3 separate regions of the Homo sapiens genome follow, and all the other regions are linked to region 1. Evidence: promoter capture Hi-C in human tissues and cell types (Jung and others, 2019). All regions are on one chromosome and are shown on one strand. The core of a region is centred on a gene start or on the middle of the fragment in contact, and the rest is flanking DNA. Distances in the headings are between cores, read along the strand shown.

Region 1 (3,182 bases), core at 337-2,836:
TCTTAGGTAAAGGCATAAAGGAAAGAAAAAGTTATTAATAAATTAGGATTTTCACTTAACAGTTTTACTTCCTTCAAAAAGGCAGGATATTTTAACCAGCATTTAAGGAGACTTTATCTATAGGACTTAAAACGCAGATGATTTCATGTTGACCAAAGCTCGCATATGAACACCAACATAATGATGAAGCTGTTAATAAGCATGTTGGTGAGTTGTATATTGACACTAAGCGCTTTCCACTTTGATACAGGGAAAATTAAATTTTAAACAAACTAGCCACACACCATGTACAGTAATCCACAGGAACAAAGAGAAAACAAGCCAACCAGCATATATTCAGCACATCACAACGAGTTGTCCCGGTAGACATTTCATTCACCAGGACCAGATGCTGACCTTGGAAAAGTCAGGTTTACCCAGTCTGAAAAGCCCTTCCGAGGGTGCACTTTTAAAAACTGCAAACTGTCGGGAACCCCAGCAGCTGAAGGAGGTATTCGCAGCCAGCCACCCTTGACATTCACCCGGAGCGCCGGCGCGGGAGGCAGGGTGGGCGAAGGACCCCATCAGGAGAGGCTACCCGACGAAGGGGCCATCCGGAGAGGCTACCGAAGTATCTATCAGGCATGCTCTTAGAAGGAGCAAACGGACACACACAGGTTACCTGTTCCTGGCGGGCAGAGGCTTGATTGGAGTAAGCTGTAGAAAATTGGAGAAAGCCCGGGAGTGTATAAATAGCAAAGGCCTCCCAGTTGGCGACAAAGTTATGCAACCTCGTTTTTTCAGAAGCGCTTTCCCACTTCACCAGACACAAAACTTTAGTCTCTCCAGTCTTCTTTTTTTTTCAAACAAACAAACAACAAGGGTTGACACTTTTGTTGGGTAGTGTGTGCGAGAAAGATCTGCAGGGTTGCAGCGATGTCCCAGAGCGGTCGCTGCCATCCCCGGGCACTGCCGTGGAGCTCAGACGGCCGCAGCCCGGCTGGCGGCTGCTTTCAGCCAGCGCAGCGACCCGGGCCTGAGCCCCCACTTCCAGCCGCCCCCACCTCTAACAGGGGGACAGTCCGCCTTGAAAGGGGCCAGCCGAGCCGCGTCAAGGCCATCTGGAGCCCCGGCCGGCATCCAAGCCTTCCAGCCCAGGGGCTCCGGGCGGGGGTGGCTTCCAGCCCTCTGAGCCCTGGCCACAGGTGGGCGGCGGCCTGGAGGGGGACCGAGGAGCAGAGCACCCCCACCCGCCCAGCCCCGGGCAGGCCCGGCAGGCGCGCTCCTCCACTGACCTGCGGGCGGCTTGGGGGCGGCGCGGAACAGCTGCATCTCGCGCCCAGCTCCAGCCCGCCTGCCCTCCATGGCGCCGACTGCCCGGCCCGGCCTTCCCGCGGCGTCCCCGACAGCTCGCTGCCTCCCGGCCTCCCCGGCCCTCCCTGTGCGCCGCGGGCGCCGTTCCCGCGACACCCGACGCCCCGGGGCAGCGCCCCGCGGGCTCACCTGGGGGACAGCGGGGAGCGGCCGCAGCTCCGGTGTCCGCGGCGAGGGCGCAGGGCGAGTCAGCGAGCGACTCCAGCAGCCTCGAGCCCCGCTCCGCCCAGAGTCAGACGGGAGGAGAGCGCCCCGTCCGCCGCCCGCGCATCCTCCCGCCCCCGCCGCTTTAACTCGTGACCCTACTCCCGGCTCGGGTTCCCGCCGCGCCCTGTCGGGGGCCGCTTTTCAGGAGCACAGGTGGGACGCAGGAGGCCGTCCGGAGGAAGCCGGCGTTGTGCCCGTTCCCTGCCACCCCCACCCTATCACTCCCTTCATTTTCTCCCTGAGCAACCCGCACCGCCCTGCTCGGGTTTGCCAGGTTTGCTCCGGAGCTGCCGCCGGCGCCGGGGGGCCACCCCCTCCTGGCCAAGGCCCCTCAGGTGGTTGCCGGGCTCCGCGGGTGCGGGATCTATAGCGCCTAGCTCCGGTGAGTGTGAGGCCCCGCTGCAGCCTCCCATTCTGATTTTTGCATACAAGGTGAAATCTTGAATGTCTTAGCGTTTCAAGCCTGAACCTTGTTCCCTCCCTGGGTCTTCTAGTTTCAGACAAGTGCTGTGAAATGAGTGGACAGTCGACTAGACTCTTCTGTAGATTGGCGGCTGGGGCAGAAAGAGCCCTGGGAAACTTTTCCAAGAAATGTAAATAGAAATACCTGAAGTAGACTTTGAACCGTAATCTTTTTCTTCATAAATTATCTGTAAATATTAAACCTAATACCCCTTATCAGGATTGGATCAGGAACTTTGGTTAATTTTAATTATAATTACTTTGGATGTGTTCTGATTTTTAATTTTTACTTATTTTTTTTTTTTGGCCACGGGTAAATTTGTAAAGGTCACTGAATTTCCCTACTAGGGTATTCCTGAAATTAGATCGATACCTAGCAAACCTTTTATAAAACCTGTTTTCAAATCCTAAACCAGTATGCATGGATTACTAATAAATTTTTGCAACAGGGTACAAGAATTTTATGCTGTTCCTCAACCTGGATCCCACATACTGTGAACAAGGTAGATACCCAGAAAGGATATAATTGGCACAGTCAATTCTCAAGTGCAATTTGGAAAATATAATGTAATCTTTAATCCCCATATGCCTACACACGATGTAACGCTATCTCCTTACTTGATGGTAAGAGTTTGAAATGCTTGATTGTTCAGGAACAATCTGAACTTTGAAGAGGTTCACAGTCATAAATGATGGCACTTGCTTAACCCTCGTTTTAGCTGAGTTATAAGGACCGGTGAATAGATAAAGCCAGGTTTTGGAGTCAGACAGATGAGGGCCCAAATTCCCTTCTGTGCCACTTATTGGTCTCTAGGGAGTTACTTACCTTCTCTGAACCCCTTTTCTTTTTTATGTGCAATCTGTGAAGTTAGCCGAGAGAAAGGACGAGAGAGAGAGAGAGAGAGGGAGAGAGAGACCGAGAGAGACCGAGACCCAAGTTCAGGCAAGCCTTTATTCAACCTGCCGGCTGCTCCATTACAGACAGAGGAGGCAGCCCTGAGCTTACAAAATGAGGGTTTTATGTGGGGGAGAGAGACCCTGGAGTTGTTTGTTGGTTAACTCTGCCACATATCACCTTGTGACGTTTATGGTACCGGAGGGTGTAGGTAAAGTTTGTTTATACTTCCCACGACCTCCCACTGTGCAGTCCGGATGGTTTG
Region 2 (3,182 bases), core at 355-2,854, 190 kb before region 1:
ACAGAACTTCCCTCAAGGGTTGTCATGAATGCTAAATGAAATAAAACATATAAGTTACTCAGAACCATGTATACCCCACAATGAATATTAACTATTAATAATTTTATCAATACGGGTGTGTGGGCAAGAGGCTAAGTCCACTCGAATCTCCTTGTCTTAAAAACAGATCTGCATAGAGTTGTTATGAGGGTTAAGTGAAATAAAATCCTAAAAGCCTGGAACACGCTGACCTCATCATAAGAAGCATTCAAAAAATGCTCATTTCTTTTCTCCTTCCCAAGATAATACTATCGCTTAACCTTCAGAGACCTCGGCTTCTCATATTATAAAATTATAAGATAAAACAAGGGCCGGGCATGGTGGTTCATGCCTGCAATCCCAGCACTTTGGGAGGCCGAGATGGGCAGATCACTTGAGGCCAGGAGTTTCAGACCAGCCTGGGCAACATGGCGAAACTCTATCTCTACTAAAAACATAAGAAAAGTAGCTGGGCATGGTGCCACATGCCTATAATCCCAACTATTCAGGAGGCTGAGGCACAAGAATCACTTGAACCCAGGAGGCGGAGGTTGCAGTGAGCGGAGATCACACCACTGAAACTCCAGCCTTGGGCGACAGGGCGAGACTGTCTCAAAAAAAAAAAAAAAAAAAAACCTAAAAAACACGATTCTTACCTATTTCCCTCCCTTGTCTACCTGACAGGCATGTCTCAGCCAGAGCCCATCTAAGGCCAAGATGGAAGTGAGGAAACCTGGGTTCTGCTTTTAGCTCCAGCATTTGAAAAGCCACTTACCTTCCCCTCAGCCTCAATTTCCTCATTTATTCATTGTAGTACATCTCAACAAGTGTGTGCCAGATAGGGTGCTAGCTGAGAGTACTAGCTGTTAGATATGTAGAGACAGATAAATAAGGTACAGTCCCTGACTTCGAAGGGTGTATACTCTAGTGCAAAATAAAGGCATGTAAACAATTAAGTACGTTGATTGTTGTATGGACAAGACTGACAGGCAGCCCAAGGGAGGCAGTAATCAGATTTACTCCAGTAGGGCAAAGGAAGATTCAAAGAAGATAGACCTTTGAGTTAGGTCTTACAAGGTGAATGGGAGTTTCCCAGGCAGAACTAGGGGAAAGGTATCCCAACATCTGCAAAGGCTTAAAGAGACAAAATGGGGGAAGCGCAAATAATTCATTATAGCTTGAGTATAGGATACATCTAGGGGAGTTGCAGGAAAATCGGATAATAATACCTTAACTACTTGCTTGGCAGGATTTCCATGAGACCAAAGAGAACAGTGTATTAAAACTGAAAAAGACACAGTACTGCAGAAACATCATGTGTGATTATTATTAGTACTCTGGCAAGGCTCTTTATGGTACTTAATTTTCACCCATTTCCTCCTAGCATGAGAACTTGAGCTATCGTTTCGTTGCTTACTGCTACTTTGCCTTCTTCCTCTCTCCCCTAAGAGACAAAAGAGGATGATTTAGCATCAATCTAAGTGGAGAGGAGGGAGGAAGAAGTGAGAAGAAAAACAACCAGCTCCCTGTTTTAATTACCACAAGCCCTAAGTCCCTTAACAACGATAATGTTTCATATTTTAAAAGAGTTCAGTGCTTTCTGGCAGAAAAATAAACCTTGACCCTCAAGATCATGGTTTTTCAAACGTTCTTGACGATAACTCATGATAGGAAATACATTTTATATCACAACCCAGCACACACACAGGCACGCAAAGAAAGGTTATAAAACAATATTGATACCTGTTAAATGCAACACACTCTGACATTTTCTCTTCTTTTTATGTCATTTTAAAAAGTGTTGCTTACAATCTCATCAGTGCATCAAAACTTACAGTTTGAAAAACATCACTAAAGGACAGGAGGGTTCATGGAAGACTTCAAAAGAATGGTTTGCAAGTCCCTTCCCTCTTTCTTTTCTCTTGTATTTTAAGACACTGCAAAATAAAGCAAAGTCCAGCCCATTTTCTGGGAAATAACAAAACATTTCTGTGTGCACAGTTCACATGGTGTGTTGTTTGACAATAAATTAGACGTTTCCATGTGGGGTTTCTTGTGTGTTTGGTTGCTGTAGCTGATTAGGCTTGTTGACAAGTAAGATTTCAAAACCCTTTCTTAGGCAGGGCCTTGGTGCTCTTTGGAAAGCAGGATCGTATGTCTCCGATGTCTTTTCAATGAGAACATTCAATAAGCAACTTTTTTCACATAAAGGGCCCCATCACACATTCTAACCCAGAAGTGAGCAAGCATTTTGCCTCAGGGCTGCTGAAACGGGAACATGATGCCTTGATGCCTTTCCAATCATGCACACACAGATTGAAAACTCACATCACCATCATCACTACCACCACTACCCTCAAGGAAAGAGTCTGAATCCCCATGCTGTTAGCTTTTGTGTTCAACCAAAATCCCAAAGCTGGAAAGGAACACAAAGGTCATCTGGTCTACTCTCCTTCCAAAGAGGATAGCCAACTAAACTTTGCTGGTTCACAGGTGAGCTATTTTTCCACCGCACCACAGCAAGTATTTGTACTCTGTGGGGCCTTCCTCATGGTAATGCACAAGCTTTAAATGTTTCTATCATCACACTTCTGAGTATGCCATTTCTCCCTCTTAGAATGTGTCTTCCTCCAGCCCATGCAAATCCCACCTATCCTTCCAGATTACATCCCAGCCCATTAAGAAGCCGTCTCCACACTCAACAGCCCCTGTCCATCCTTTCCTCTTCTGAAATAAGATTAAGCTCACTGAATTCATGCAACCATGTACCTCTTAGATACTGTTTAATAGACAGTTAATATGTACTTAGAGACTGACTTTCTAATATGTAAAAGAAGAGGGTTCGTAAGAAACTTTAGGATTTAATTTTTTTTTTTTTTTTTTTTTTTTGATACGGAGTCTCACTGTCACCCAGGCTGGAGTGCGGGGGCGCCATCTTGGCTCACTGCAACCTCCACCTCCTGGGTTCAACCAATTCTCCTGCCTCAGCCTCCTGAGTAGCTGGAATTACAGGTGCCTACCATCAAACCCAGCTAATTTTTGTATTTTTAGTAGAGACGGGGTTTCACCATGTTGGCCAGGATGGTCTCAAACTCCTGACCTCAAGTGATCCGCCCGCCTCGGCCTCCCAGAGTGCTAGAATTATAGGCGTGAGCCACCACACC
Region 3 (3,182 bases), core at 466-2,965, 170 kb after region 1:
CTGTTACAGAGCTGGGTAGGAACTCCTAACGCTCAGAGAAAGTACAGAAGTCCTCAGAGTTTTTTCTTCTCTCTGCTGTCTTGGATTCCAACTCTCAAGCAGTCTCGTAGGGGTGATGGTGGGGACCACAATAGGAACCTGCAGGAGCCAACACTCTGTGAGAAGGAAACTTTCTCTCTGAATGGTGGAACTGTGGCCCCAAGAGAGTGGGGCAAGCCCCCATTGCCTTTTTCTCTCTCTCTCCATCCTTCTGCTACTTGGCCCTGTATGCAAGCACAGTTATAGAAGGGTGCAGCAGAGATGGGTAACTAAAGCCTCAGCTTGGTAGCCGAAGAACAAAAACAGGGAGCACCAGGGGACTGGAAAGAACTATAGAAACTGGGGAGATGGATTATGAACTCCTGAACTCATCAGTGAGCTCTGCATACATGAATCTGATTCTAATCAGCACACCAAAGACTTTGAAAACCAAACTAACAAATGTGCCACCATCCAGGGCCCAAAATGGCCACCAGATGACCTATATATGGGACAGATCTGAATAGCACAACAGAGGCTTAAAAAGCTGAGCTGACGTTAGAACCACAGCTCACAGAAAGTGGGTTGAAACTTGCAGCCTTAACCTAACCGGGTCAACTGTCTGCTGAAAAAACAAACCAAAAAAATCAACATTCACTGTAGAATGTAAATAAGACCCAGAGTTTCAGAATATGATATTCAATATGTCCAAGAGACAATCCAGAATTACTTGGAGGTAGTCAGGCATGATGGCTTATGCCTGTAATCCCAGCACTTTGGAAGACTTAAGTGGGAGGATCACTTGAGGTCAGGAGTTCAAGACCAGCCTGGGCACCGTAGCAAGACCTCATCTCTACAAATAATAGTAATTTAAAATTTACTTGGTGTACAAGGAACCAGGAAAATCTTAGCTTGCCTAGGAAATGATAACAGACACTAATACAAACTTAACACAGATGTTGGAATTATCTGACAAAGACTTTAAAACAGCTATTATATAAATGCTTTACCAAACACTTGCAAACACTCTTAAAACAAATGGAAAAATAGAAAGTCTCAGAAAAAAAGAAGATATGAAGAAGAACCAAATGAAAATATTAGAATTGAAAAATACAATGGCCAAAAAAAACCACTTTTACTCAATAGGCTCAAAAAAAAGATGGAGATGACAGAGGAAAGAATCAATGAACTTAAAGATATGTCAATATAAATTTTCCAATCTGGGCCAGGCACAGTGGCTCACATCTGTAATTCCAGCACTTTGGAAGACTGAAGTGGGAGGCTCATTTAAGCTCAGGAGCTTGAGACCATCCTGGGCAACATAATGAGAACTTTGTCAAAAAAAAAAAAAAAAAAAGAATGAGAAAAGAAAGGAAAAGAAAGAGAGAAAGAAAGAAAGACAGAGAAAGAAAAAGAAAAGAAGGAAAGCTTTTAATCTGAAAAACAGAGAAAAAAAATTCCTTTTAGAAAATGAATGCAGTGTTAGGGGCCTGTGAGTTACTAACAAAAAGTATAACTTTCCCAGCCTGGGCAACATGGAAAAACCTCATCTCTAGAAAAATTACAAATATTTGCTAGATATAGTGGTGTATGCCTGTAGTCCCAGCTGTTCAGGAGGCAGGAGGACCACTTGAGCCTGGGAGGTTGAGGCTGCAGTGAGCTGTGATCATACCACTGTACTCCAGCCTGAGTGACAGAATGAGAACCTGTCTCAAAAAACAACAACAGCAACAACAACAAAACAAAAAACAAAGGCTAACTTATGTAATTAGAGTTCCAGAAGGAAAAAGAGTATGGTGCTGGAAAAATATTTGAAGATGTAATGACTGAAAACTTCACAAGTGTAGCAAAAGACATAAACATAGAGATTTTTAAAAATTCAGTGAACTCTGAAGAAAATAAAGCCAAAGAAATCCATGCCCAGAAATTATAATCAACCTCCTAAAAACTAAAGACAAAGAAAAATAATCTTAAAAGCAGCTAGAGAAAAATGATGCATACCTATAAGAGGGACAGTGATTTCAATGACTGCAGATTTGAGCCTTGCAGATCAGAAGGAAATGTTGAAAGAAAAGAGCTAGAAACTCAGAATTATATACCCCCATAGCACTCTTTCAGGAATAAAGTGAAATAAAAATAGTCTCAGAGGAAGGAAAACTAAGATAATTCATTGCCAGTAGACCAGCTCTAAAATAATTTTAAATAAAGTTCTTCAGATAAAAGAGAAATGACACTAGAAATAAATTTGATTGGAGTGTTCAATCTGCAAAAATTTAGTAAAATTATTGATATGTTTCAGCTAGGGTAGTGGCTCACGCCTGTAATTCCAACACTTTGAGAGACAGAGGCAGGTGGATCACTTGAGCCCAGGAGTTTGAGACCAGCGTGGGCAACATGGTGAAACTCTGTCTCTACAAAAAATACAAAACTTAGCTGGGTGTTGTGGCATGTGCCTGTTGCCCCAGTTACTCAGGAGGCTGAGGTGGGAGGATCACTTCAGCCCAGGAGGCAGAGGCTGCAGTGAGCTGTGATCACGCCACTGCACTCCAGCCTGGGCAGCAGAGCAAGATTCTGTCTCAAAAAAAATAAAAAATGAAAATTATTCATATGTTTGGATTTAGGTCCACCCTTTTATTATTTGTTTTCTGTGTGTTCTCTCTGTTATTGTTTCCCATTTTCTCTATTCTTTGGGGTTTTTGAATAATTTTTCATACTCCATTTTGATGTATGGCAATTTGGACTCTATCTCTTTGTATAGTTTTTTTTTTTAATTAGTTCATCTGGGGAATAATATACACACTTAACTTTCCACAGTCCACTTAAAATCAATATTTTACCACTTCAAGTGGAATATAGAAACCTCCCAACATACAGGTCCTCTTGCCCTCCCTGCTTTATAATAGTCTTATCTCTTATATCTACATATGTTGAAACCCCATCAGAGAATGTTAAAATTTTGCTTTATTTTTATTTTTATTTTTTTATTTTTTGAGGTGGAGCTTCTCTCTTGCTGCCCAGGCTGGAGTGCAATGGCACATTCTCAGCTCACTGCAACCTCCACCTCCTGGGTTCAAGTGATTCTCCTGCCTCAGCCTCCCGAGTACCTGGGATTACAGGCGCCCACCATCACCCCAGCTAATTTTTGTATTTTTAGTAGAGATTGG

The links. Contacts are between HindIII fragments. The study calls those that stand out against the background at their distance.
Region 2: a fragment that was not itself captured here is called in contact with the fragment with the promoter of MCOLN3 in region 1 in 1 of the 25 tissues and cell types used here (IMR-90 fibroblasts).
Region 3: a fragment that was not itself captured here is called in contact with the fragment with the promoter of MCOLN3 in region 1 in 1 of the 25 tissues and cell types used here (small bowel).

Annotation. Positions count from the first base shown.
Region 1 is chr1:85,046,914-85,050,095 of GRCh38, forward strand. It overlaps MCOLN3 (mucolipin TRP cation channel 3), which reads right to left and starts at 1,587. Exons shown (of 13, transcript NM_018298.11): 1 at 1,483-1,587. RefSeq lists silencers at 1,069-1,818, 1,849-1,988. The HindIII fragment of the contact is 9,392 bases long and covers 1-3,182 here.
Region 2 is chr1:84,857,852-84,861,033 of GRCh38, forward strand. The region is part of intron 2 of LPAR3 (lysophosphatidic acid receptor 3); the gene reads right to left. Among named protein-coding and RNA genes, the nearest start is that of LPAR3, 34 kb to the right of the region's middle. The HindIII fragment of the contact is 5,926 bases long and covers 1-3,182 here.
Region 3 is chr1:85,215,427-85,218,608 of GRCh38, forward strand. No RefSeq gene overlaps it. Among named protein-coding and RNA genes, the nearest start is that of SYDE2, 16 kb to the left of the region's middle. The HindIII fragment of the contact is 3,111 bases long and covers 161-3,182 here.